Regions from separate parts of the Homo sapiens genome. Here all the other regions are linked to region 3. The links are contacts of gene promoters, found by promoter capture Hi-C in blood cells and fetal thymus (Javierre and others, 2016). All regions are on one chromosome and are shown on one strand. Each heading gives the region's core, a stretch centred on a gene start or on the middle of the fragment in contact. The rest is flanking DNA. Distances are from core to core; before and after follow the strand shown.

Region 1 (4,443 bases), core at 311-2,810, 140 kb after region 3:
TGTCAATGAGCAGTAATATTCTGAAAAGAATCTTTCCTTTAATCAACAGATCTAATCAATGGACTTAAAATAGTCAGTAAACTGTGCTCTAAACAGATGTGCTGTCATCTAAGCTTTGTTCTTCCACTTACAGAACACAGGCAGGGTAGGTTAGCATAATATGTTTGTTTGTTTTTTGAGATGGAGGTCTTGCTGTAATGGCCAGGCTGGACTCAAACTCTCGGGCTCAAGCAATCCTTTCACCTCAGACTCCCAATTATAGGTGTGCCACACCACCTGGCTCAAGATTTAGCATAATTCTTAAGGGCCCTAGCATTTTCAGAATAATCAATGAACACTGGCTTTAACCTAAAGTTACCAGCTGCATTAGGCCCTAACAAGAGAGTCAACCTGTCCCTTAAAGCTTTGAAGCCAAGCATCGACTTCCCCTCTTTAGCTATGAAAGTCCTAGATGGTATCTTCTTCCAATGTAAGGCTATTTCATCTATACTGAAATTTCATCTATCCTGAAAATCTGTTGTTTAGTGTAGCTTCCTTCATCAGCTATCTTAGCTAGATCTTCTAGATAACTTCCTGCAGCTTCTACATCAGCACCTGCTCCTTCACCTTCATTTTTTTTTGTTATAGAGATGTCTTCTTTCCCTAAATCATATGAGCCAACCTTTGCTAGCTTCAAACTCTTCTTTTGCAGCTTCCTCACCTCTCTCAGACTTCATAGCATTGAAGAGAGTTAGGGCGTTGCTCTGGATTAAGCTTTGGCTTAAGGGAATGTTGTGGCTGGATTGACCTTCTATCCAGACCACTCAAACTTTCTCCATATCAGAAATAAGACTGTTTTGCATTTTTTAAAAAATCATTTGTGTGTTCACTGGAGTAGCATTTTTAACTTCCTTCAAGAACTTTTCCCTTGTATTCACAACTTGGCTAACTGGCACAAGAGGTCTAGCTTTCAGCCTATCTTGGCTTTTGACATGTCTTCCCAAATCAACTTACTCATTTCTAACCTTTGATTTCAAGTGAGAGACATGCAACTCTTACTTTCACTTGAAGACAAAGTCATTGTAGGGTTACTAATTGACCTAGTTTCAACATTGTTGTTTCTCAGGAAATAAGAAGGCCTGAGGAGTGGGAGAGAGTCAGGGAATGTTTGGTTGGTGGAACAGTCAGAACAAACACAATATTTATTGATTAAATGTATCCTTTTATATGGGTGGGGTTTGTGGTGTCCCAAAACAGTTACAATAATAACATCAAAGATCACTGATCACAGATCACAGTAATAGGTATAATAATAATTAAATAGTTTGAAATATTGCTAGAATTGACAAAATGTGACACAGAGACATGAAGTGAGCACATGATGTCGAAAAAATGTCCCTGAATAGAATTTCTGGATGCAGAGTTGCCACAAACATCAACTTATTAAAAATGCAGTATTCACAAAGTGCAGTAAATAAAGCACAATAAAACAAGGTATCCTTGTATATGTAATCATGCTTTACTCTTTTGGAGAGTACATAGTTGTAATTAAAAGCAGAGCTTGTGACATCACTCCTTTTTTTTTTTTTTTTTTTCAGGTCAAGAAAATTACATCCCTCCCAGAATGCGAAGATATAAACATGCTCTAAGGAGGTATGACAGCTATGCTCAAGATTCAGGTGCTCAGATAATTAGACGAGGTAAGTAGCAGAACTTTCAAAATGATGGTCGAACGAGGGCAGTTCCCATTTGTGTGTGGCATGCACACACATATGCAAACACACACATGGCCCAGGCCAATGGCTTACCTTTCCAATCAGTTTTCTTACCTACTTAACAGAAGAAATGTATTCTTATATTTTCCTCTCTGTTTTAGCTATCTAACTATTGTGAAGAAGTAACTTTGTGAATTGGTGTGTGCAGTTACCTAAAATATCTTGAGTACAGATACCCAAAATATTCTGGAATTTTCTTTTGCGATTGTCTTCAATGCTAGCTTACAAGTTATTCAAGATAATGAGTTACTTTACTTTATAGTCACCTCTTATATTTATAGAAAGTCATATTCCATTTGATCCCTCACTTTATCACCCTTGGCTCTGAATAACTTCTGGATGTTTCAAATGTGCTTCCAAAGGATAAAAATTTTCCATCCCTTAAAGAATGAACATTTGAGGATGTTAAGAATGCATTCTCGGGATGATGGCAATTCCAAAGAGGACTCCCTGTGCCCTGGACTGCTCCTCTCCCCAACACAAGATTTTGAGCAATTGCAACGTTGTTAAAATAACTAGTTGTTAAAACTCATCTCAGCTGGGTGCCATGGCTCATGCCCTTAATCCCAGCAAGGCGGACAGTGGGGGATTGCTTGAAGCCAGGAGTTTGAGACAAGCTTAGGCAACACAGAGGGACCCCATCTAAAAATAAAAAGCTTATCTGTTGTTCAAGGATACACCATTTATTTGATGGTTTATTTAGGTTACATGGTTTATTCAAACCTTGAACATCGAGGAAACCTCAGAGGGGTGAATGTACTTAAGACGCTTGATAATGTTTTTGTGAGTTGATCAAGAATTCTGTATTCTTGCTTCAGTTTTATGTTAAGAGAAATTGGAGTCTCCAAAGAATAAAGGCGTACACTTCTAGTAAAAAGCCAGTGGTGTACCAGACATGGATCTGGCTTTGCTGATTTCCTCCCCTCCAATTCTCTGTCTAAAATCCTTGCAAGACTTGATGGCAAGGCAATGATAGAAGGTTGTGGTGTCGTAGGATGCTTACTAGATTGGAATCAGAATATTCCTGGCCAGGAATCTGGGTGTCGATCAAATGTGGCAGTACCTTTAAAAGCACTTGCATAGTGCCTGGCACCCAACTGGCACTTCAATGCTGATTTTGAATTTGAAATTTAGAAGTTAAAGCTATAAAAGTGAAGGCCTACTGAATTTTATATACACAGCTTAATAATGGGATAAGAATGCATGCTATAAGAGGTCAGGCTTTTAATAACCCAATACAGTGAATCTCTTAATTCTCAATAAAAAGAGTGTAAAAAAGATGAAAGAATCTAGCCTATAATTATTCTGCCAGGTCATGAGGTATAAGCAGGTAATTTTAGAATGTTCTATAACTGTACTTTATAGATTGCATTAAGTCGGGGTAGTAATTTTTTAGGTTTCGTGTGGCAGGGTTTATTTCTGAATATAGAAATGTTCAATTCATCATGCAAAAATTTTTACATAGGTAGACCTCTTCACTATCCCAAGTTTATTTTATTTCCATCTACGCACACTCATTCAAAACATGCATGCAATGTATGTAGGCATGCATGCACACATGCACACACTCACACACACACTCCTCAGTACATGAAAATTAAAGCTAAGTAGTCATAATTGGTCACCTTTTGCCTTATAATTTGGATTTTAGGAAAAATAACCCTCTCCTATTTTCCTCCTTTTGAGAAAACTGTAGAGAAATATATTAGCATTCTCAAATGTATTGGCCTCATGTATTTTCTTTCTTCCCTTGCATGTAAACCTTGTAGTCTTGCCAAGGTTTTCTAATATTTGCATGTCAAACACAGATTACAAGCCCCCTGGGCTGGATTCACACTGGCCTCTTGGCTTTTTACAAAACGTTGCATAGCCTTGTCACTAGCTTGATGTTAAAGCAAATAATGCTAGCATCCTTAGTAAGGCCTTTGCCCTGAAAACTGAGAAAATCCGACCACAATAAACATGCTGAGAATAAAATCAGTCTCTGCTATAATTATTAGGCCAGAGACAGGTAAGCACAATTATTTCTGTACTGAAAAAAAACAGGTGGGTAGTAGCTGGCTCTGCACTGAGGGGGCAAAATGCTTGAAGTCCAGGGATGTTCAATCTATAAGCTCATATGTGTCCAACACCCACTTATTCCCTCCAATACATTTTCCCCTTGATGCTATGCCTTCTTTTTGTTTTTAAAAGCAGTCTTAAATTGGTTACCATTTTTTTCCCTTCTCATACTTCTTCCTGTGCTTATAGGCAAGGGACAGTAAATTAAGCATATCTAAGGATTTAATGCTCAAAATCACCTTGGATAATTGGCTTATGGGGTTGAGGCATGCTTTTCCCTCAGTCTCCTAGTATTAATGCTATTTCTCCTCAGAGGGTACATCTGTCAATAATTGATGAAGCCTTCTTGGGTAAATGAGCTGTTTCTTGGGACATTATAAATCATATTTGGAATCAAGTTTATTTTCAAGCTGCTTTTGAAGTCTCGATGCTGTGCTAACTGAACAGAAAATGTTAAATGTTTGAGGGAGTAGTGCAAGCTCTCAAATGCTAACGGCATGAGCTGGACTTAAAAAAACAAATGGGATTTATACCCTCTGAGGCAACAAGAACACATCTGGTTTGTCAGCAAAGCATATGTAAGTTTGGCAAGGGTCTTCCAGAAGGAAATTGCCTGAGTATCTACTGC
Region 2 (4,869 bases), core at 2,073-4,572, 160 kb after region 3:
TTAAGTGTAGCACAGGTACAAGTCTTTCTTCCTGTTTATTTTCCAACAGATTTGCAGTATGGGCTACATCTAGTGACATTAAGGACCTCTTCAATAATACACATTTCCAATTTCTGAGGAAAAACTAATTATCAAACAGCTTTAGAGTTTTCTGCAACTTTATACTAATCTCTTATTGCCTCTGTGATCAGTAATAATCTATGTATTTGCATTTTTAAAAATCTTTTAGGTCTCCTACCTACATTTCATCATTTCTGACTTTTCTCTTTGGTAACAACAAATGGTATTTTATTCTATATTCATGATTTATAGTTTTTATTTTACATAATTGTTTCAAAATGATTATTTCTCATCAAAGGCTCTATCTACTGATTTATTCTGATTCCTCCATTAAATCTCTCCCTTTATCTAGTAGCATTTTGAACTACTTTTTCCAGTTCCATGAGAATCATGTCATATTTTTGTCATTACTTAGAAACATACATAAGTATTGGCTCATGTTTCCCTTTAACTTTAATAGCCTTCAGTGTCAACCCCAACTTCAAAAACACTGAAGTGCTAAGGTGACTCCATAGCAACCACCAATTTGCTTATCCCTTTCTAAGTTCAATGACACCTGGCACCTTGGCCTTTATGCCGGAGAATTATAGGGAAGATGTTTTAAGTGTTACTGTTTCCATTTTTTTTAAGTTTTTTATTACACAGTGGAAAAAAAAAACTAGGCTTGGGTTTGAGTCTCAGTTGGATCACTTACTAGTTTTGTTGCTGTGGGCACCTCACTGTACTTCTAAAGCTCTCAATATTCCCACATTTAAAATGGGGTAGTGATGCCTACCATACCACAACACAGGGACTGTCATCAGGAATGAGGGAGACGAATATGTAAACACTTTCTCAGTCTCACAGTACTCTGTAAAATAGAAGGTACTGTGTGTTTGGGGGAAGTAGAGATAATAATTCTATACTCTGGTCGTTCGCAATCATTCTTAATATTTCTTTTAATTTCTGTAATTAAAGGTTCTTGAATTCCTATTCTGGCTCATTTCAGTGCCATGTTCCATTTAATCTTCTCAGTCTCCCTCACTGAGCAGTCAGGAGCTTGTCCCTATTTGAAGCTTCAGCTAGCATTTTGCTAGTGCCTAAGCCAGTCTGTACTCCAGCCCTGCCCAGGCCCTCTTGGTGGACAGAATCCTAGATGTGGTAAATAGCATGTCTTAGCCTTGATTCTCGCCTCTCCTTGCATCCACTCTTTGCCTTGACTCTGGCTTTAAGCTCCGTAACTTGCTTTGGCCTCTAGGATATTAACGGATGTGATAGAAGCAGAGCCTTGAAAACTGTTTGTGACAGGGCCTGCTCTATCACTCTCATGCCTTTGTTAATGCCAGTGTGAACATGCCCAGGCTAGACTGCTGGTCCCAGGAGGAATAGTGACACATGGACCAAAGCAGAGTATCCTGTCACCCTAGTCGAGATCAATGTAGATTAGCCACACCCAGCAGACCCCAGATATGTAAGCAATCGCTGTCAACATCAGCAGAGCCACCTTGCTGACGCCCAGCTGGTCCCCAATATGTAAGCGTAATAATTTATCGTTGTATGGCTCTGAAACTGTAGGGTTGTTTGTTACATATTTTAATTGTAGCAATAGATAAACTAGATGTCATAACTCTCTGAGTTCCTGGCTTTAAGAACAGTAGTCTCAGAGATTAAGATCCTGAAAAGTACTATAATGGGCAAAACAGAAGTGTCGTAATTCACAGAGGTCCAGAGAAATAAAAACTAAAATGCTATTAAATATATTTTAAAATCAGATTCTTCAGCATGAAACGTCTCTCTGGTGGGCAACCCATCTCTTGAATCACCTTCAATGATTAAGGAGAAATGACCGTGGCATTGTGATTTGCTGAGACAGGTGCTCATATAAGTGCTATGCTATTCAGAAGGCACCACTTTTTAAAGTTTTATACTGAGCTTCTTAGCCTAAAATTGAATATCTTTTTTACTTCCATTTCCCTTCCTTTTATTTTCAGCAAATGCCAGAAAAATGGTAGCATCATCGCTGGCCTCTTCACCAATTACCACAACACTTAAGTACACATTTTCCAGATATGTTTTCCGGTCTGTCTATTGATAAATTACACATGTTTGATTTCTCTATCCAGTCCCAGTTGACCCACTTGTGGTATACAAAAGAGAAATACATTATTGATGGTGGAAAAAAATGTGAAGTATTGATACTCACCTACTTCTACTGACTTTTCATCGCATAACCCTGGCCCATTATGTAAGAAGACATGTGAGGATGATATTCCACATCAGGAGATTTGGGATGGAGTACATAGCACAATGGAGCTTGACAAGAGGACAGAGAAATGAATGTCAAATTCCTGACCTTTAAAATTAAAAGTTTCTATTAATCTTTCCATAATCTGTCTTCTCTGTTCTTCCCTCACTAGATAAAGATGCTCCCAGCTGAAGAGAGGGAAAAAATTTGGAAACATAAAGAGAAATAGACACTGGTTTTAGGGATAAGCCCCTTTTTGGGTCAATAAGTAATGAGCCAAGTGATAGGCAAAGAGACTATTAGACCCTCAGATAAGTGTAAGTATAGAGGAAACAGTGCTATAGAAGATATTGATATAGCACACTAACATTCAAGCCTTGCTCTTCCTCTGGGCATATGAGACATTGTACTTCTCCTTGAAGATAGGTATGAACTTGTGAATTGCTTTGGCCACTAAATTGTAAATGAAAGTGACTTGGCTCATTTCTATGTCCAAGCATCTAATTACTGGAGCTAGACTTTCCAGCCTGCTGCTTCTTCTTACATCAAGACAGAGGTCATGGAGAGTTCTCTGGAATTGTAGTGGATTTTATATGAGTGAGGAATAAAATTTTGTTGATCTTTTGGGTATTGTTTATTACTGTAGCATAACTTCCCCTATCTGTGTTCTGTTTCCCATCTGGGTGGCTGGAAGGGAGAGACACACAAAGATCTCAGGCCACTCAGCATGGGGTAGTAGAGCTGAAATTACTGCACTGGTGTCAAAGAGAGGGCTTGTTCACAGATCCTAATTGTTCTATTGCCCCAAGAAGAAGGGTAGCAACTACCACATGTCCCTAATAAAAGTAAACTTTTCAGCAGATGCAGAAATCTGGATTTCCAAAGTGTTCTCAAGGTCATGACAAGGGGATGCAACCACGAGTGGTGGTGTGAACCATTCAATCTGAGACCCAGATGAGTTCTGGGATTTGGCCACTTTCAGTGGAAGCCCATTTGGGGGTTAACACTAAGTATAAGATGTTATGATTGCATATATCAGGAGTTGTCAACTCTGGACAACCACAGAGACACTTTCTCATATATACTACATCACTGTGTAAGCACTTGAGTTAGAATTAACTGCAGAGAGAAGGGAGAAAGGGGAAAGTTCACAATCTGATTCAGTGTAATGCTGAAACAAGAAATTACTGAAGTGGTTGGGTTTACTTGGAAGTGACCAGATCAATTGTCTATCAGGAAATATGAAGGGCTTGAGATAGAAATCAACTTCAGTTATTAAGAAAAAGCTCTAGTTTTGAACATCTGAAGTTGTGGTATGAAAATCAGGCATACTTCATATTTTTGTAAGAGGATTGAACAGAACAGAATTTTAAAAGAGTGGGATCTAATGATTTTACATAGAAACACAAAGCCATGCTATTTCACAACTTGGTGTGGTTGGCATTGGTGAGGAATTGTTGTATTACTTCACCTGGTTAGAAGCCTGCTGGGCCTCTTGAGAACATAGACCTGTCTGTTACCATTGGCATGGGATTATGCCTACCCAGCTGCTCTCATATGGTCAGCCTCTGTGGCTCAAACCCTTAACCCCTGGCTTATTGTGGCAGGTGGGTCTCTAGCCAGGTGCTGGCTTCTTCAGAGATAGGACACTTTGTCAAGTGATCAACCTGCCCAATGAATATTAGTGTTCAGTGACCCATAACACTGGGCACTAGTGTTGGGTGTGACAGATTATTTTTTCTTGGTTAGCACTTCTTTGTTGACTTACCTTGAAAATAAAAGTATTTTAAAATATGCACATGAGATTAAGATATCCACAAAGTTACAATGTACTCATTTATATCGTGCTACATATTTGATAAGCACTCATTAGAAAAATAAAATTAAGTTGCAAATGCTCTTAGATTAACTAGTTAAAATAATCCTTCAAATGCTGAGAATGTGGCAAAAGAGAAATATAGTATGCCTTGAGTGATGTAGGAATTTCAAAAGAAGTTGAAATGTGAGCAAACTATTTCCTAAGTATATTAATACAGGACCTTCATTAAATCTATTTAACAACTTCATGAGGAAGACTTATGCATACTTGGCAGATGAGGAAACTGAGATGCAAGAATAACTTCTCCAATGTCGTGTAACCACTAAAATAATAGAGCTGTTTTTTTTGTTTCTAAAAATCATCAAATCTAGCTCTCTACTTTAGCACATTTCTGTACAGACTTCATACCAACTTTTTTGATGGTTTGGATTCTTTCCTCATTCTTATTGGTGTTCCTGATAGGTCAGATTTCTTTAGATAGACTTACATGAGATGATCAAAGTTTTCATTCACTTTTTCTTGGGTCGACTGGTGTGATAGCGGCAGCTGAATTCAGAAAAATGAAATACCCATTTAGGTTTGTTTCAGTCAGTGGTTCTCAAACTTGGCTGTACATGAGAATCAACTGCAGAGCTTTCAAACCATACTGATACCTGGGATCCACCTTGGTCCAATTACATTAGAATCCCTGGGGGTGGAGCCTGGGCATTGCTCTTTTACAAAGGATCCCAGGCGATATTAATGTGTAGCCAGGGCTGAGAACCAC
Region 3 (4,323 bases), core at 141-2,640:
AACAAATAGAATAATATATATATATATATTTTTTTCCGTAAGAAACCTTTCCTAAAAGCCAGGATTTTAAGAAATCCCACTTACCCACAATTAGCCTTTGGTGCAGTCAACTGATTTAGACAAGAACTTTTTAAGCCAACTTTTCAATCAAAGTCTGCCATGTTTGTGGAACTGTGGCTATTTACCATTTTACAATGACTTAATTGCAAATTAATGTATATCTTTTTTTTCTTGAGAAGATATAATAAGCTACCTTTTTAAAATGACAATCCATTTTATTTTCCTGGAGAAAAGAATCCATTTGCTTTAACCATAATCAGAGGAAGGTTATTTGGTCAAACAAAGTAAAAACCATAAACAATAGATAGCCATCATTACCACAGTAACATTGGTCCAGCTAGGAATTCACTTAGCTAAATGGGTGACTTCCTACTCACATACCTCCTCAGTGCACAACAAACACAGGAGCAAACAAAAGCCTTTACAGAATCCAGAACCACCAGGCAAGAAGATATAATAATCAAGCAATCAAGCAAAAGTTTAAAAATACTGCCTAAACTGCACCAAAAAAAAAAAAGAAAAGAAAAGAAAAGAAAATGATACTACAAGAGAGAAGTTAATGAGGCAGAAAGATATTCTCAAATATAAAACCCCCTCCAGGACTTTTAAGAAAGGTATCAGAGGCATATGGAAGGCTAAGTCCAGGATGGATTTAACTGAAGAAAAGGATATTTAGAGATTATCAACATTTTCTAATGCAACAGAAAACCAAGCCAACTTAGTCTCCTACTTAGTAAGTGCCAGCTCTATTCTTCATCTTTTTGGAGATCCAGAAAAATCAAAAAGAGAAAATATCCAAATATAGAAGCTTAATTTAACAAAATTGGAAAAACCTAAACTATACTGTGCTCTGGTGACCTAGCAATCAAATAATCACAGTCATTTGGTCAATGTCTATGATTAACTCAATGAGACAGGATGTTTGGCTATAGCACCAGGTACAAAAAATATATTTTCATGAAGGATCACTCCCTCTTATGTAATAGATTTGGGTGAGTGAGTGAGTGAGTGAGTGCATGGACTCACAGCTTTTGGCTTTCTGAAATACCCTGCATCAGTCTTGTTATGATGATTCCTTAGTGCTGGGATGGATCATCCAGGCATTTAAGGTAACACGATGGTAATTCTTTGCTCATTTTTCAGGGAAAAAAAAAAGTTATCACTTCCAAAGTCGGCATAGTCACCCGAAGTAAAAAAAAAAAAAAAAAAAAAGCCTCAGAGGCAAAGGAAAGGGGCCGCAACCTTGGTTAACTGTGAAATGACGAATGAGAAAACTCCTCCTGCTGAAGATATTCAGGTATATAAAGGCACATGAAGGAAAACTCAAAACATCATTGTCATATACACATCTTCTGGATTTTTTAGCTTGCAAAAAAAATGAGCACCAAACCTGATATGATTCAAAAGTGTTTGTGGCTTGAGATCCTTATGGGTATATTCATTGCTGGCACCCTATCCCTGGACTGTAACTTACTGAACGTTCACCTGAGAAGAGTCACCTGGCAAAATCTGAGACATCTGAGTAGTATGAGCAATTCATTTCCTGTAGAATGTCTACGAGAAAACATAGCTTTTGAGTTGCCCCAAGAGTTTCTGCAATACACCCAACCTATGAAGAGGGACATCAAGAAGGCCTTCTATGAAATGTCCCTACAGGCCTTCAACATCTTCAGCCAACACACCTTCAAATATTGGAAAGAGAGACACCTCAAACAAATCCAAATAGGACTTGATCAGCAAGCAGAGTACCTGAACCAATGCTTGGAGGAAGACAAGAATGAAAATGAAGACATGAAAGAAATGAAAGAGAATGAGATGAAACCCTCAGAAGCCAGGGTCCCCCAGCTGAGCAGCCTGGAACTGAGGAGATATTTCCACAGGATAGACAATTTCCTGAAAGAAAAGAAATACAGTGACTGTGCCTGGGAGATTGTCCGAGTGGAAATCAGAAGATGTTTGTATTACTTTTACAAATTTACAGCTCTATTCAGGAGGAAATAAGGTATATTTTTGGAATTAAAATTCCTTTTCCCTCCGAAATCTCTTTCTCCTTCTCCTCCTCCAACTTCTTTTTAAGGATTGTTGTGCTGTCCTGTAAGCCTGTCCTCAGTTGGACTGGTAGCCTCGGAACATCAGGGACACTCACCTCTCTAAGGAGAGGTAATGCCAACCATCCTCAGGGTGACCAAGAGTCTCCTTAGAAAGTCTTTAAGACATTTTTAAAGGAATAAGATTCCCTCTCCGTCTTCTTCTATTCTCTCTTGCTCTTTTCTGTGGCCATTTTGAAAGAGCTTTGCTATATATACCACCTGTGGACTTCACCAAGACAATGGCTAGAGGATAGGGAGCAGAGAATGTTGCAAAATGGTAACATTTCAATGACTTAACTGTTTTGCTGCCAAGGTTGCTTATCCTATGAAAATTCAGCACATTAAAAGAGCTTATACATGCTCCCTAGAGTCAATACTCTTGCATTTTCCCCCTCCTGCTCGGGGGGAAAAAGGTTGACATTTCTGGCCCATTTCCTTCTCAGCTTGGTTTGTTTGAATTGATGCTTGTGGAATAGTATTTCATTACTTTAAGAGTGAAGATCCATAGTGAAATTGGATGGATGGTTGAATTAGACGACCATTAAGCTTTCATTTAACCTTTGAGAGTCTGTGATTCTAATGTAGCACACTCTTCATTCCTGATGTATATTGTTTGATTCCTACATCTAAAGGCATGGAAAATGCTGTGGAAAAGTATGGTACAGAATCTGTCTTTTACTGTTTTTCATGTGCCTGAAATAAAATGTCCAGAGTCATAATATGGAACAATTTTACATTAGATTTTCCTAGTTAGAAGACTACATTCTGTGAGTTAATTTAACTAGCTATTCCAATAATACATAATACTTTAATATCTTTTATCTTTTTAAAAGTTACTTTGCAGCCAGACTACCTAGATTATTTACTTTTCTAGCACGGCCCTTCATCTATATTAATTCACCACCTAGCTGACATGGATTTTCTCTTCCTCTCGCACCTCTATCTACCCCATTTCAGAATCATCTACCTTCAAGCAAGAATTAACAGAGATTGTGGCTACGCAAATGCACCAAAAAAGGGTGAAATATATCTGAAATGTACCTGGTTCTGCCCTTGGAAGCCATTTCCTGCTCATGCCACTAACAGCATGCTGCCAAACTGTTCAGATTCAAGATTATTCCAAGCGCAGGGCCCAAATGTTATAGCCAAAGAAAGTCTTATGATAAAAGTGAGGCAAATTTCAGCCAAGAAGTTAGAAGAGATGTTTAAAAGAACAAGAACAAATTGTGGATCATGGTATATGCAGGCTATCAGCAGAAGGATCAGACAATAAAATGAGTTAGTGCAAACCATTTAGTAAAAATAACTATCAGCAGAGTTGTTCCAGATTAAAAATAGTACTACAAGCTTGTAAAGGAGTTAGGACATGCAAGCTACTGAGCATAAAATATATACTTGCTATTTTTCATGACTTTCTCTAATAAAGTCTTTGCCTGTTCTCTCTAATAACTTTACTGGAATGAGGTCAATTACTTTAGTCATTTATGGTTGCAGTCCTGCCAAGTGTTTGCTATCCTGGAGGAAAGAGAATGGCTGAGAAAGCCGAGCTGAGCTTTCAGTTAATATACATTTTCTGAATGTGTGGCAGGGGTAGAAGTCAGAACAGTATGCTTTTTTAAAGATCACATCTAATCAAAAGAAAAAGGATAACATCTCCACTGGAAAAAAGGCAAGGGCACAAACTGACATCATCACAAAGGAAGAAATACTACAGACAATGTGAAAAATGTTTAATCTAACTTGATTTTTAAATGCAAAATAAGATGACAAGATACTCCCATCAGTATGACAGAAAAGAAAAAGAATGACAATATAAAATGTGAGTGGAGTGTAAGGTATAGGAGCCTTTGTGCATTACTGGGAGGAAAGTAAACTGGGACATGTTTTCTACAGGGAAATATGGCAATCTTCAATATCCTAAAGAACGCATCAGCCCCTGTGACCTAGGTATCACGTCTTCCGAAATTTATTCCAAGGAAATAGGTTTATGATATCTCCCCCTTTTACATTCATTTTCACCATTCGATATTTTCTATTTTTTCCTATAGTGATTTTTTTGGGAAGATTTTTAATTCTAAAAGAAACTGTACAAGCTTAACTTCCACTATAATTACCCTGTTTTCCTTAGCGGGGTAGGCCAAGACAAGAAATGCTCTTTTATTTTGTTAATGAT
Region 4 (4,570 bases), core at 849-3,348, 130 kb before region 3:
AACCATTCCCCCAAGTCCCCAAAGTCCAATGTATCATTCTTATTAGGCTCTGAGTCTTCGGAGATGATTCTTCAAATTTAACCTGTCTAACACATGTTGAATATATTCTTTTCCTTTCCCTTCTAAGCATGTTCCTGCCTTCAATCTCCCCCATCTCAGTACGTGCCTTGGCCATCTCCCTTTCTCAAGCCAGAAACCCAGTCAACATCCTCCGTGTCTTCTTCCCTACCCATTCCATAATCCACAGGCAGATCCTATCGATGCCACTCCTAAATTCATCTTGAAAGTTTCCTCTTCCCTCTACTGCCACTGCCCTCGCCTGACCACTGTAAACAACTTTCTGAATAGCCTCCCCATTTTTAGTCTTGACAATTTCTAATGAATTCTCCACACAATGGTCTGAGTAATCATTTTAAAAATAATAATTAAAGCTATCACTCTTGACCTCCTTTGATGGTATCCCACTAATGCTTCCAATAAAATCCAAGCCCTTTGCCGTGGACTGAAAAAGGCTTATATCAGGAGTACTCATAGAGTGGTCCCCAGACCTGCAGCATCACTTGGAACTTGTTAGAAATGCAAATTTTCAGGCTCCACCCCAAACTTACTGGATCAGAAACTCTGGGAGTGGGGCAGCAATCTGTGTTTTCACAAGCTCTCTGGGGAGTTGGGATACATGCTTGAGGCTGAGAACCACTGCTTTATGTGCTCTGCCTCCTGCCTATCTCCCTGCGACCCCACCGTTTCATTCCACTCCTCTTTCTGATTACGCTGCAGCCAAATGGGCTTCTTTCCAATTACTTGAACATGCCGAGAGCTTCTCTACTTCAGGTCCTGGCATGCGCTGTTCTCACTGCTCGGACACTTTTCCCATCTCTCTTGAGATGCCTCCTCTGACCACCTTTTCTAATGTAGCTTTCTGACCCACCCTCGATTCTTTGTGGCTATAATCATGGTTTTCTTCACAGCACTCCCCATCACTAGTTGTATTCTGTCTTTATTTTCTAGCTTCCTTATGATTATCCGGTTCTTTCACTAGTCCATTAGCTCCCTGAGGCCAGGGCTCTGTCTGTTTTATTCATTAATGTATATGCTATGGAAACCACAGTGCTTGGTACATAGTAGTAAATAAATTAAAGGCCTGAATGAATTAGCACTTTTAAGTCACTTTTAGTCTAGTGCAGAAAGAGAAAATATGTGGCATACAGCTCCCATTTCCAGCCTGGACCGAGACCGAGGAGACATCACCACTTGATCTCCAGTCTTTCCCTCTTAATCCTGGATATGGCCTCTGAATTTTTCACAACCCTCCACTCTAAGCATCTGCTAAAAAAATAATTAAAAATAAAAATAAAATAAAAGTTGTTACTTGGAATGAAAGTAGAAGTACACCAATTTCCTAAATCACCAATTTCCTAAATCATATTTCAATAGTTGCATATATATATATAAAATATATATGTGTGTATATATATATTTGAGACGGAGTCTCGCTATGTTACCCAGGCTGGAGTGCAGTGGTGTGATCTTGGCTCACAGCAACCTCCGCCTACCTCCGCCTCCCAAGTTCAAGCGTTTCTCTTGCCTCAGCCTCCTGAGTAGCTGAGATCACAGGTGTATGCCACCACGCCTGGCTAATTATATATATTTTTGAGACTGAGTCTCACTCTGTGGCCCAGGCTGGAGTGCAGTGGGCGATCTCCGCTCACTGCCTCCTCTGGGGTTACAGGCACCCGCCACAACTGTGGCTAATTTTTGTATTTTTAGTAGAGACGGGGTTTTGCCATGTTGACCAGGTTGGTCATGAACTCCAGGCCTCAAGTGATCCTCCCCACTCAGCCTCCCAAAGTGCTGGGATTATAGGCGTGAGCCACCGTGCCCGGCCAAGTTGCTAATATTATTTATGTACCAGACACTGCTAACATTTCATAAGCTTTAGTTCCCACAGGGTAACTGGCAGACAGGTAATCTGAAGCCAGGCTGTCTGATCACAGAGCCTGCAATCAGGGCGAAATCCTTTCACCATAGTGAGAATATATGTATTGGAGTTCAGCAGTGAGAGACTAAGGGCGGAGAACTTAACCCAGTTGAAGGAATCAGAGGGTGCAATGGACTGAATGTTTGAGTCCCCCCAAAATTTGTATGTTGAAATCCTAACCCCCAAGGTGATATTAGGAGGTAGAGCCTTTGAGTGGTGATCAGGTCATGAGAGCAGAGCCCTCACGAATGGGATTATTACCCTTATAAAAGCCTTAAGCTCCAGAAAGCTTCCTCCCCGCTTCCACCACCTGAGGACACACTGAGAAACTGGCAGTCTACACCAGAACCTGACCATGCTGGCATCCTGATCTTGGCTTTTCCAGCCTCCAGAGCTGTGAGAAACTGTGTTTACAAGTTACTCAGTCTACAGCATTTTCTTATAGCAGCCTGAACAGAATAAATCAGAAAAAATCCTGGAGGAGTTCTGAAGTTTGAGTTAGTCAGGCAGAGAAGTAGAGAAGCAAAGGCATGAACCCTTTACTCACACCTACTCTTTTCTGAAACGAGGTCTTGGGAAGAAGAGAGCTTTGGTTAAATGTACCACGTTCACAGGATGGTGTTTGGCTGAGCACATCCTATTCAGAGGCGACTGCCTACCTCTCACCTCAGCAGATTCTTCAGTAATAATCTTCTTTTTAAAATATTGGCAGTATATCTGATCTTGGTGAAGTTTATTTATATAAATGAATGGTTGGGTGTGGTGGGTAAAGCTTAAAAGGTCCCTAGGGGAAGGGGGCAGAGCTTTTTAAGTTATTTTTGTGTCCTGGATAAACTGATTCACCTCTCTTGGGTCAATAATCCCGTCATGTAATGAGTTATGTTATTGTTGGAAGTGTGCTATTCATGTGCAAAATGTGATGCTGAAAACGTTTGGAAACCATAGACATCAATTATTAAACTATTTTAATGAAAGTAAGTGTTTACACTAAATAGCATCTCTGAGTGTGATCCAAAAAATTACAAATCATTCTCAATTGACTTGCAATCAAGAGAAATCTGCGTGGAGCTGGAATTTATAGCACAGCCTACACTTCCATAGCAACCAACTGATGTCACATACGGAACTCAGACTTCCCTGACGGGCCCAGGATTCAGCTTGGAGGTATCATATGTTCAGTTAAGCATAAAAGTGACTTCAAATTTAGAGAATGCTTTTCTTCGAAGAGATTAATTTTACTTAATTTGATTTTGAGAGGAAGTGCTTAAAGCAAATAAGATGATTCTGCTCCAGTATTTTAACCAAAAATAGATGTAGAAATCTCATATAATTCACAAAATTGAGCTTGACATGATGCCATGCCTCTATAAGTCTCTATGGCAAAAATACAGAATTCTCAATGCAGAGGAGAGATAATTTCATATCAGATTCAATGCCTTTCTATAAGAGTTCCTGGAAGTACTATCCCCATATAAGCAGCATCAGAATCCCCTCAGAGGCTTGCAAAAAATCCAAATTTGGGTCTCACCCAGAACTACTGAATCAATCTTTGAGGGCAGGGCTCCAGAATCTAATATTTTAATACATTTTCTAGAGGATTCTTATTTAGAACCATTTTTTGGTGGAATTCAAATAAAGAAACAAGTTTTCTTTATCATATGTGGGAACAGGTAATTCTTGAACATCATTGAAGCTTAATGAGAAATAACTGCATAGCAGGCCCCTAGGTTGTAAGAGTATTCTATAATGCAAAGAGAACGTTTAAAACATCTGCAAATATTTGGAGGAAAGCAAAATGGTATACCGTAGTAGGACTAGACTTCTGGGTTTCAAAATCCAGGAAATTTTAAAAATTGGGCAAGGGGATCAACATAAAGTCGCCTACGTTTATGTTGCCAAAAGGGCACTTAAAAAAGTCTCACTAACTCTCACTCATTTCATAAAAGGGCATTTTTGCACCACAAAAGAAAAAAAACAAGAAAGCTATAATCCCAGAATAAAAGACAATCCTTTACATGAACAACTGTAGGAATAAAGACGAGCCATTTGATGTCCTGTCCTATTCATTTTCATGAATGGAGCTCTGATACTTGGGAAGCTCTCAGGCAGTGGAGAGACCAGTGTTTTGGAAAGATAAAAAAGTCAATTCTAAGCTCTTCCTCTTGCTAGCTGTGTGATTTGGGCATCACTTACATAACCAATTGGTCTTGGTTTCCTTATCTATAAAATAAAGATAATCATCGTCATGACTATTAATGACCTTACATGGATTAATCAACTGACATACAGAAGGGACTCAAAAAATGTCCACATTCCCTGGTTTTGTCTTCTATGGATTTACAATCTACTAAGACCCTTGTTGGACTTGAGACAGACTTGAGACAAAGTGTTGCTTGAGATAAAAAGGAGGAAAAGTGGCTGATTAACTGATTGTCCCTAGCATTTTATTTTTAGCTTTTTTTCTCTTGCTTTAGATTCTGACGGAGTTTCACATTAGACAGATTCTTAATACCTGGCTATTACTGACTATCTGAAATAGCAGTTCTACACCTTGTTTGTCACAAAATGCACAGGGTACAAGTAAATCCTTGC
Region 5 (4,399 bases), core at 591-3,090, 170 kb before region 3:
ATCTGACCTTTATGTATAAAATTGTTTCATAGGAGGAAGTGCTCCTGAGACCACACAAGTGACCACACAAGTCCCTAGGCTAGGTACTGCCTGTAACCTGCCTTATCTTCATGCCTTTATTGTGGTGGGACAGGTGGGTGGTGGGAGAAAATATAATGTTATGTTTCAATAAATAAAACCTTCCTTCATTCAAACCCCAAGTTAATACTCGCTTGACATTTTTGGAGCCAAAGAATCTAATCTTATCTGGCCGGGAAATTTAAACTAGTCTAGACCACACATAGCAGCCAAAATTTGGCAGGCTTATATATGGGCATCAAGCCATACTGACTATTTACATTTTCATGTAAATGCTCATGAAGACGAATTAATCCCTGCTGTGACTGACATCCTGCAGCAATTTCCAACACTGCAGAGAACATTAAAAAAATAAAAAAGTACAATTACTATTTGGTGTCTCTGACCAACAGCTCCCCTAAGATACTGAGCAGCTTCCTGAGGTGGAGGTTCTGATGGGAAATCTAGGGAGAAATGTTGAGCAGAAGGTACTGAGTTTTATTTATTCCTATCAATAAAGTAGGAGAGAAGTGGCTTAGCAAAGAGAAGCAACCATACTAGGGGGCTTAAACAATGAACGGAAATGCCTCATGTGGCAGCATGGAGACAATGTGAACACATCTGGCAGCTCTTTGTGGAGGGAGTGGTTGTTAAGAGTGGGTTATAAAAAGTAGCTCTTGAAGGTAGAGCCTCTGGCTCAGTGGTGTCTGAGAGAATGTCCCACAATGATGAAAATGTTCAGTATCTGTGATATCCAATACAATAGCCACTAGACATGTGGCTTTTGAGCACTTAACATGTGGCTAGTAAGGCTAAGAAACTAATTTTTAATTTAATGTTAATCTCAGTAGTCACAAGTGGTTGGAAAAGCCTTTTCAAGTATAAAGTTTGATTTTTCTGATTAGAAAAGTGACACATGTTTGTGACAGAAAACTTAGAAAGCCCCAAAAAGTATATACCAAAAAAAAAAAAAAAAAAGCATTATCTATAGTAATACCAAGAGAGAACCACTGTTGGCACTTTTTGCTCTATTTCCTTTATCATCTGTGGACATATGATTAGTGATTTTCCAGTACAGTTTTGTATCCTGCTTTTATTACTTAATATTATATGCTAGCAATTTTCCCATGAGAGACATCTTCAACTATAATTGATCATATTTTAGGCCCTGAAACAAATCAGACCACATCTCATCTCTGACCAAATTAGAAACAAAGAGAAACCCTAAAACAAAAATGAACCACCCAACACCCTATAAACTAGAAGCAAAAGTTCTCTGGACATCAACAAGGGATGAATAAATAGGACTGGCAGAGACATGTGGCTATTTTTGCCACATCCCCAGTTACCCAGCATAAGGCAATTCATTGGAAATAATCATGTTTCTTTGCTATTTTTCCAATTGACACTTTAGAATACATCTGCCAAGTCTCCTAAAATGATATCTGGCAGGCCCTCCCACTAATCTCTGAGCCTTTGCATTATCCTGAACAACCACCAACAGCCGATGCCACCCTGGACACACATATACTTGTCATCTGAACTGGCAAAGCCCCATGAATGCACACTCCAGCTACTCTTGGCAACATGTACACCCCCTCTGCCCCTCTGCTGCCATGGTGGGCTTTTTTTTTTTTTTTTTTTAAGACGAAGTCTCGCTGTTGTGCCCCAGGCTGGAGTGTGATGGCACGATCTCGGCTCACTGCAACCTCCGCCTCCTGGGTTCAAGCAATTCTCCTGCCTCAGCCTCCTGAGTAGCTGGGATTATGGGCACCTGACACCACGCCTGGCTAATTTTTGTATTTTTAGTAGAGATGGGGTTTCACCATTTTGGCCAGGCTGGTCTGGAACTCCTGACCTCAGGTGATCCACCCGCCTAGGCCTCCCAAAGTGTTGGGATTACAGGCGTGAGCCACCACGCCTGGCCCACAGTGGGCTTTAATCCATGAAGGGCTCTCTAAGCAAAGAGAAACGGTTGTCTTGGATGAAAGATGACAGGGCTGCTGACACATCATATCAGTAGTAATCCCAGTAGGTCAGTAATCTTAGTAGTGACCCATCAGTAATCTCTGTAGGTCAGGCTGGGAGGATTCTAGGGATGATGTCTTTTACAGGTGGGGAAACTGAGGCTCAGAGCCATTACATGCCTTGCCCCATGTGGTAACTAATGTGGTAGCATAATAGTGGAAATGCCATTGTAAAGGCCAAACTGTCAGCTTCACAGGCTGCAGCTCTTTCTTCTATAATGGCTGAGTCCACATCAAGCCTTCTGGCTGAAGGCCAAGGAAGCCGCCTGACAAGAAGCAACCCAGAGGCCTCTGTACAGATGATGTTTCAAAAGAAAAGGTCCTTTCAAAAGCCCCACAATGGCTCTTCATTGCTGGCTACTTTAGGGAGTAGCTCTGGCTCATGCGAGAGGTTCTGCTTCTTTTCACAGTCCTGACTTGATCTTACCATTGCAGGCCAACCTTGGCTGCTGCACTCACCCAAGCAACTCTGAGAGAAGTGTATGTGTGGCCTGGCTACCTCTTAGGGCAACATGAGGTCAGTGTATTCTGGGGCCTGGATAGGCTTGTGGCTGGGCCTTTATGAGACAAGGCTTTCCAAATCTTTGGTCTTCAAATTGTTCTAAAAAGCACCCGTTTTTAGAGGATAGTTTTGGTGGTAGAGCCTACCATAAATCTCAATCATTAGCCAAGAGGCACCTACACACTGGGGGTGGGACATGCACTTTGGTGTGACAAAATGGCAGTGATAAGGGATGGAGAGGAATGTGGTTCAGATGTTGAGAAACTGCCCATCACATCTGCTGGAAATAATAGTAACAAGTCTGGCCAGGTACCATCTGTAATCCCAGCACTTTGGGAGGTCAAGGCAGAAGGATCACTTGAGCTCAGGAGTTCCAGACCAGCCTGGGAAACGTAGTGAGACCCTGTCTCTACAAAAAATTTAAAAATTAGCCAGGTGTGGTGACATGTGTTTGTAGCCCCAGCTACTTAGGAGGCTGAGGTGGGAGGATCACTTGAGCCCAGGAGGCTAGAGGATGCAGTGAGCCATGATCACACCAGCCTGGGTGACAGAGTGAGACCCTGTCTCAAAAAAAAAAAAAAAAAAAAGTAACAAGTGTGAGGAGATGAAATAATATATGTCAAGAGGAACTAACAGATTATCTGGAACTGAAGAAATGAAGTTATTAATTATTTCTTGAAAATGCTTGTGCGTCATGCACATGGTAAGAATTCCACGAAGGGGTGTCTGTCATATGATGATGTGGGAGGATGAGGAGCAACAATGAAAAGGACTGCACTTCCTGTGTGTGTGTGAAGCCCTCCCATATGGAGTTTCACTTCCTTCCCACCTCCCTCTCCATGCGGCAGTGGTGGCTGTGTGGTTTGAGGCCAGGGTGGAGGCATGAGGAAAATAGAAAAATCTAGAGACACATCACATCACAAAGATGAGCAGTGCTGCCCAGAGTGTGTTCCATGGATCATGATATCTCTAAGATGTCAATGAGTGATAGCAAAAGAAAAAAGTCCAGTAGCCAAATGCAGTTAAATTGGGCGGGCTACACAAAATTGAACAAGTTTCTTTACTGGATACCTTCTCAAAGGCTTTGATATGCTATTGTACACTGTAAATCTTCAAGGGTGGAGACGATGTAGTATTTTGTAAACTCATTTGACCACAGAAGGAAGTCTGTTTTCACTGACCATCACTCAGGACTGGCATTTTGAGGAGCTCTCTTGGCAAACACTGATCTTCAGATTTTTCTCCTTTTTGCTTTACTTCCCCACCCCACTGAGCTAACTCCCAATCCTAGAGGAGAAGAGATGAAGTGCTAAAAATGGTAATTCTCACATTTGAGGGTAATTGTCATCTAGGGTCTTTTCCCTCAACGTGTGGTCTGGGAACCAGCAGCATCGATATCATCTGGGAGCAAAATGAACATTCTCGAGTCTCCTCCTCTCAGATGTACTGAATCAGAACTTGCATTTCAGCAAGATCCCTGGTGATTCACATGCACATTAAAGTTTGAGATGCAGACTGAGGGTGCTTGGTACTAGGCACTAATCTTAATAATTCTGATTTAGTGTATCTGGGGTGAGGCCCAAGAATGTACTTATGAAGTACTTCCTCCAGGAGATTCTGATGCACGTGTGTGTGTGTGGACTCCTGAGAAACCCCTATGGTCCAAGCACCCTGCTATAAGGTAACAGAACAGCTCTGTGGTAACATTGGTTTTCACAGCAGCAGCTCTACAAGGTAGGTGGTGGTATAATCACTTTCATTGTTAGAAACAAGAAAATGGAGCCTTGGAGAGAGAATGAGAAGGTCCTGGACC

What was found. Contacts are between HindIII fragments. The CHiCAGO score rates a contact against its expected background, and 5 or more counts as called.
Region 1: a contact is called between a fragment that was not itself captured here and the fragment with the promoter of IFNK in region 3, in 1 of 17 cell types (neutrophils). The highest score is 7.2, in neutrophils.
Region 2: a fragment that was not itself captured here is called in contact with the fragment with the promoter of IFNK in region 3 in 1 of 17 cell types (neutrophils); the score reaches 7.5 in neutrophils.
Region 4: a contact is called between a fragment that was not itself captured here and the fragment with the promoter of IFNK in region 3, in 9 of 17 cell types (naive B cells, total B cells, M0 macrophages and 6 more). The highest score is 21.7, in naive B cells.
Region 5: a contact is called between a fragment that was not itself captured here and the fragment with the promoter of IFNK in region 3, in 16 of 17 cell types (naive B cells, total B cells, M2 macrophages and 13 more). The highest score is 33.7, in naive B cells.

What each region holds. Positions count from the first base shown.
Region 1 is chr9:27,667,444-27,671,886 of GRCh38, forward strand. It overlaps LOC105376002 (a long non-coding RNA gene), which reads left to right. Exons shown (of 3, transcript XR_007061441.1): 2 at 1,578-1,679. Among named protein-coding and RNA genes, the nearest start is that of C9orf72, 96 kb to the left of the region's middle. The HindIII fragment of the contact is 1,618 bases long and covers 752-2,369 here.
Region 2 is chr9:27,682,002-27,686,870 of GRCh38, forward strand. LOC105376002 (a long non-coding RNA gene) reads left to right here. Exons shown (of 3, transcript XR_007061441.1): 3 at 2,163-2,208. Among named protein-coding and RNA genes, the nearest start is that of C9orf72, 110 kb to the left of the region's middle. RefSeq lists an enhancer at 1,190-2,389. The HindIII fragment of the contact is 4,418 bases long and covers 1,114-4,869 here.
Region 3 is chr9:27,522,900-27,527,222 of GRCh38, forward strand. IFNK (interferon kappa) reads left to right here and starts at 1,391. Exons shown (of 2, transcript NM_020124.3): 1 at 1,391-2,062; 2 at 3,108-3,599. The coding sequence starts at 1,438. The coding sequence ends at 2,061. All of the region lies in intron 1 of MOB3B (MOB kinase activator 3B), which reads right to left. The HindIII fragment of the contact is 1,828 bases long and covers 867-2,694 here.
Region 4 is chr9:27,388,617-27,393,186 of GRCh38, forward strand. The region is part of intron 2 of MOB3B (MOB kinase activator 3B); the gene reads right to left. Among named protein-coding and RNA genes, the nearest start is that of EQTN, 94 kb to the left of the region's middle. The HindIII fragment of the contact is 334 bases long and covers 1,932-2,265 here.
Region 5 is chr9:27,349,219-27,353,617 of GRCh38, forward strand. All of the region lies in intron 3 of MOB3B (MOB kinase activator 3B), which reads right to left. Among named protein-coding and RNA genes, the nearest start is that of EQTN, 54 kb to the left of the region's middle. RefSeq lists an enhancer at 4,394-4,399. The HindIII fragment of the contact is 6,818 bases long and covers 1-4,399 here.